Linked DNA regions of Homo sapiens: region 1 is linked to region 2. Evidence: promoter capture Hi-C in 16 types of primary human blood cells and fetal thymus (Javierre and others, 2016). All regions are on one chromosome and are shown on one strand. The core of a region is centred on a gene start or on the middle of the fragment in contact, and the rest is flanking DNA. Distances in the headings are between cores, read along the strand shown.

Region 1 (3,145 bases), core at 457-2,956, 780 kb before region 2:
CATTGTATTATTATTATAACATTGATTTATCTTTTCTTGAATGGCAATTATTGTCACTGCTGGGCTGGAAAAATCCAGAAAGCTCTCCAGTATATGGTAATTAGATATGGGATCTATCAGTCATCGTGTGGTGTTGAATAACAAACATATGGAAAAATGAAGCATGAATGCATCTGTTTTGTACTATTTCCTCTGAGCCTTCAGCATACTAATGGATTACCATAAGGGTGGGGATTCAACATGCACAACATCTATGAAAAATGTATAAGACAACTTTCCTGGTTGAGTTTTTCTCTACCAAGAAGGTCATATCTTGGACTTTCATTCAAAGACTATTATTTCTGGGATCTTCCCCCCTGCACCCATAGTGTCTAATACAACTTTTTCTCACCTTTCATCTTACCCTGTTTCACTAAGACCTCAGATATTTACTGGGGCTTTCCAACCTTAAACTTAGTTGTGACTTGGGTTACCCCATTAGCAGGATTAGTAGTCTATCACAACAGTCCCCAACCTTCTTGGCACCAGAAACCAGTTTCTTGGAACGCAATTTTTCCACAGACTAGTTGGGGGTTGGAGATGGTTTCCAGATGAAACTGTTTCATCTCAGATTTACAGGCATTGGTTAGATTCTCACCAACAGCGCTCAGCCTAGATCCCTCATATGCACAGTTCACAATAGGGTTCATGCTCCTATGAGAATCTAATGCCACTGCTGATCTGACAGGAAGAGGCAGAGCTCAGGCAGTAGTGCTCACTCACCCGCTGCTCACCTCTTGCTGTGTGACCAGTTCCTAACAGGCCACAGACCAGTACCAGTCTGTGGCCCAGGAGTTGGGGGCCCCTGGTCCATCACACACTTGAAGAGCTATTGTTAGAATAAGCTTCACATAATTAACGGCTTTGTCCCAATTTGGTATTAAAAGAGCAATTTCCCATCTTACTCTGTTCACCACAATTCAGTGTAAGAGATCAGGGATTTGTTCCTACTTCTTTAATGGAAAAACAAATCTATCAAAATCAGTAGTTCTGGAAACATCAATGCAAACAAAATGGACAAGTTTCCATGGATTTTTCTATTGTTCATTTTGAATAACATTAAAGTGCATGGATGCTACCATTTGTATGCAAACCAAATAGAGAATAGAAAAGAGCTAGCTTTTTATGTATCCTGCAGATATTTTTTGGGCTCAATTTATATTTTGGGCCATGTACACTTCTACATGTTACACATAGACCTCATGTCTTTTCGTAAGTATGAAGACTAGGAAAAGTTATACACTAAGCAAGCCCATTCTGTGGGATTGGAATGTTAACCTGTATTACACTAAAATCTCTGCTTTTATTAGGATGCTGGTCTACTTTCCAAGATGAGTACTGTTTGTGGAAAATGCACTTCCCATCACATTTGGGAGAATTAGATTAGTATAGACTTGACTCAGCATGAGCTTCAGCCATCCCAGGTTCACCATTGATAGGCCTAGCACTGTCCAAAGATTGCCATTGATAATGTGCTCCAGGAGGATTACATGTGGAATGACCAAAGGAATTCACTGAGTTAGAGTAAACTTTGGACCTGTGAGGAACCTTTGAAGCAGCCATAAGATGATGGAAAGAGCAATATACATGTAACACAAAAGCCTGGGATTACCTGCTCTGCTCTTTTCCAGAGACAACTCACTGAATTCCTTGAGCTTCCATTTACAAGTCTGTCCAGTGGCACATCAAATAAAATAATTGAAGTCTTTCTGCTTAAGAAAACTTTAAAAATTACAGTTCAGTCATTTTATAGTACAGGTTAACAAAACTGAAACTTGGAGTAAGAAAACGACCTGGTGGACCCCTACCATTATGCATCCACCCATTGTCTCCCCCTGCTGGCACACTCCAACCATGACCTCCCCTGCCAGCACGTACCTGCTTGCATCCTCCCCCTGTCAGTGCATACCTGCCCATAGTCTTTCCCTGCCAGTGCACACCCACCCTCAGCCTCCCCCTACTGATGCGTACTCGCCTGCAGCCTCCTCCATTGGTGCACATGTGTGTGGAGACTCCCACTGCCCCACTGGAGCAATTTTGCCAGCAGCCCCTGCCAGAGTGTTGTTGCAAGTGAACTGGGAACACCTCAGCACCTCCAGCACAGCAGGTGCTTAATCTCAAGGGGCCAGAGAGCAAAGCCACAGGACTAATCCCCCATCCCCCAGGATTACAGCATGCAGCCCAAGAGTGCTGAGGTGAGCTTTGGCTCCAGAAAAGCATTCAGAATTGAAACCAATCCATGAAACCCAATTTATACCATAGTCAAAACCTCAAGAGCATCAAATAATAGAAAAGCAAAAAGCCCCATCCAAAAGACAGCAGCTTCAAATACCAAAGGAGCATCAGTCCACACAGATAAGAACTAGTGCAAGAACTCTAATGATTCTTAAAGCCAGAGTGTCTTCTTGAGTCTAAATGACTACAACTTGCTCCCCAGCAATGGTTCTTAACCAGAATGAAATTGCTGAAATTACAGATACAGAATTCAGGAGCTGAATGACAAGGAACCACATATAGTTACAGGAGAAGGTTGAAACCCAATCCCAAGAACACGGTGAAACAGTCCAAGAGTTGAAAGAGTACACATCCATTTTAAGAAAGAAACAAACTGAATGTCTGGAGATGAAAAATTGACTCCAGAAATTTTATAATGCAATTGGAGGCATTAATAACTGAATAGATCAAACTGAGGGAAAAAAGTCTCAGAACTCGAAGACTGTTTTTTGGAATCAATGCAGGCAGACAAAAATAAAAAAGAATTTGAAAAATGAACAAAAGCTCTGAGAAATATGAGATTATGTAAGGAGACCAAACCTGTAACTCGTTGTCATTCCTGAAAGAGATGGAAAGAGAACAAGCAACTTGGAAAACATATTTGAGAATATTGGTCATGAAAATTTCCCCAACCTTGCTGGAGTGATCAACATGCAAATTCAGGAAATTCAGAGAACCCCTGCAAAATACTATACAAGATGACCATCCCCAAGACACGTAGTCATCAGATTCTTCGAAACCAATGTGGAAGAAAAAAATCTTAAAGACAGCTAGAAATAAGGGGCAGGTTATGTACAAAGGGAACTCCGCCAGGCTATAGTGCACTTTTCAG
Region 2 (3,163 bases), core at 471-2,970:
TGGCTGCCTGAAAAGAAGAATGCTGGATACATACTTCATACCTTTGTTGGGAAAAAGTGGCTAAATAGATTACAGATTTAAAGGCAAATATTAAAATGTAACCATGAATGAATCAGGAGTAAAGATAGGAGAATTATTTTATTCCCTTGGACTAGGAAAGATCTTTCTATGAGTCTCATCTGGAAGCCATAAAAGTAGTGATAGATTAATGCATATACATAAAATTGTAGTCTTCTGCTGTGGGGAAAATCATAAGCAAAGTCAAAAAGAAAAGAAATTGCAACTCATATCCAGATAGTACTAATCTCTCAGACATAAAAGGAGTTCCTGGAATCAATGAGAAAAAGACAAAACAAAACAAAAATGGAATAAAAAAGGAAAATTGTCAAGAGTATGAATAAATAGTTCATTGAATGGAAATATTAACGGTCTTTAAACATATGAAAAGATGGTAAACATTCATTGTCTCATTTTTTGCATTTTTAACATTTATTGAGATATAATTCACATATCACACAACTCATTTAAAGAATACAATTAAATGTTTTTAGCTTATTCACAGATATGTACCATCATCACCATAGTTGATTTCAGAATATTCTCATCACCTCGAAAAGCAATCTTAAATGTTTTAGCTATTACTCCCTATTCCCCTCTACTCACCAACTCTCCTTCCCAGTCCTAAGCAACCTGTTATCTACTTCTGACTCTATAAATTTGGCCATTCTGAACTTTCCTATGAATGGAATCATATCATATGTGATGTGACCATATAATATTTTGTCTTTTATGACAGGCTTCTTTCATTTAGCATAGTGTTTTCAATGTTCATTCATGTTTAAGCATGTGATCAATACTTCATTTTTGTCGAATAATATTTCATTAGCTGCATATGCCACAATTTGTTTATTCATTTGTCCATTCACAGACATTAGGTTGTTTCCACCTTTTGGCTATTGTATACAATGACACTATAAACATTTGTGTTTATGTTTTTATTTCTCTTGATCATGTACTTATAAATATAATATTAGATCATATGAGAACTCTGTTTATCATTTGAGAAATTGCCATCCTGTTTTCCAAAGTGGCTGCACAATTTCACATTTCCATAAGCAGTATATGAGGATTCTAGTTTCTCCACATCTGTGCCAATACTTGTTATTATCTTTCTATTCTAGCCAGCCTAGTGGATATGAAGTGGTATCTCATCATAGTTTTGATTTGCATTTCCCTGAATACTAAAGTTGTCAGGCATCTTTTCTTTTAATGTTTGTGAATTATTTCACCTTTATTTATCTCAAAATACTGGTGATATAGATATTTCATATATAACAAGGTTAAGCAACATGTGCATGTAAAATGGAGGCAGAACCAAGGCTAAAGCAACATCTAGCTCAGCCATCAACTCACTATCCCTGAGGGGTTAAGGTGGGGGCATCACACAGTGTTCATCAGCTCTCCCAGACAGATGCGTTTGATTCATCTTTTCAAAGACCTGGATGGCTGCCATCCCTGCCCAGTAGCTGCAGGAGTGGCTGGTGAAGATTTCTACCAGTTGCTTCCCATTAGCCTTGTCTACCTCTGTCTGGGGGACGGTCTGTAGCTCCTTTCCCAGGGAGATTGTTCTGATCAGAGACTTGAACTTGCTCAACTCATCCTGGCTGAGCTGCTCCAGAAGAGCCTGCAGGTTGAAGTCCAGCTCTGCAGAAGATGCCATCTTGTCCTATGTGGGAGCTCTCCCAACGCCTGGCCCTATGCTCTGGTTCTCACATTTTTTCATATACTAATAAGTATATATTTTTATATCTTTTTAGAAGAAATATCAGTTCAGATTTTTGCTCATTATAAAATTGCGTTATTGTCTTTTTATTGCTGAGTTGTAAGAGTTCTTTATATAGTCTAGGGACAGGTCCTTCATTAGATACGCGATACGCAAATTTTTGCTCCCATTCTGTGAGTTGTCTTATCAGTTTAATGATGGTGTCCTTTAAGGTACAAATGTTTTTCATTTTGATGAAATCAAATTTATCTATTTTTTTCTTATTTTTTATGCTTTTGATGTCATGTCTAAGAATCTTTTGCCAAGTCTCAGGTCATAAAGATGTACCCCTATCATTTACTATAAGAATATTACAGCTTTAACTCTTACATTTGGGTATTTGATATATTTTGAGTTAATTTTTGTATGTGGCATGAAATAGAGGTCCAACTTTATTCTTCTGCATGTAGAAATCTACTTGCCTAAGCATCATTTGTTGAAAAGTCTATTCTTTCCCCATTGTACGGTCTTGAAACCCTTGTTGAAAGTCAGTTGACCACAGATGTACGGGCTTATTTTTGGACTCTCAGTTCTGTTTTATTGAGCAATGTGCCTATCCTTATGCCAGTACCACATTATCTTAATTACCATTAAGATGCTAAGTCATGAAATGAGGAAATACTAAATAAATTACTAAGTCATGAAATAAGGAAAGGTGAATTGTCTTTGTTTGCTCTTATTTTTCAATATCATCTTGGCTGTACTGGGTCTATGCGATACTACTTGAATTTTCTAACTAGTTTGCCCATTTCTACATAAAGTAAGCTGAGGTTCTGACAGGGATTGTATTGAATCTGTAGATCAGTTTGGGGAGTAGTGCCATCTTAACAATGTAAATTAAGCCTTCCAATCTATAAACACGAGATGCTTTCCACTTATTTAGCTCTTTAATTTCTCTCAATAATGTCTTGTAATTTTCAGAGCATAAGTTTTACTTCTTTGTTAAAATTTATTTCTAGGTATTTTATTCTTTTTGATATGATTCTAAAAGGAATTGTTTTAATTTCAGTTTTGGACTGTTCATTACAAGTGTGTAGAAGAAAAACTGATTTTTATGTATGATCTTGTATCCTGAAACCTGGATGAACTCATTTAATAGTTCTAACAGGTTTCGAGTGAATTTTTTAGGATTTCCTATATACAAGATTATGTTATCTGCTAATACAGACACTTTCACTTCCATTCCAATCCAGTTGCCTTTCTTATCTTGTCTAGTTGCTAGGGCTAGCACCACTAATGTAATGTTGTATGGTCATGCTAAGAGCAGATAGCATTGAGATGGTCCTGATTTTAGGACAAAAATCATTTTTCCATTAAATATAATTTTGGCTATGAGTTTTC

The links. The method cuts DNA at HindIII sites, captures the fragments that hold promoters and counts their contacts. A CHiCAGO score of 5 or more calls a contact.
Region 1: a contact is called between the fragment with the promoter of FGF12-AS1 here and the fragment with the promoter of PYDC2 in region 2, in 2 of 17 cell types (endothelial precursors and neutrophils). The highest score is 8.7, in endothelial precursors.

What each region holds. Positions count from the first base shown.
Region 1 is chr3:192,237,191-192,240,335 of GRCh38, reverse strand. FGF12-AS1 (FGF12 antisense RNA 1) reads right to left here and starts at 1,706. Exons shown (of 5, transcript NR_046596.1): 1 at 1,652-1,706. All of the region lies in intron 4 of FGF12 (fibroblast growth factor 12), which reads left to right. The HindIII fragment of the contact is 8,524 bases long and covers 887-3,145 here.
Region 2 is chr3:191,459,720-191,462,882 of GRCh38, reverse strand. It overlaps PYDC2 (pyrin domain containing 2), which reads right to left and starts at 1,720. Exons shown (of 1, transcript NM_001083308.1): 1 at 1,427-1,720. The coding sequence starts at 1,720. The coding sequence ends at 1,427. The region is part of intron 1 of PYDC2-AS1 (PYDC2 antisense RNA 1); the gene reads right to left. The HindIII fragment of the contact is 8,936 bases long and covers 1-3,163 here.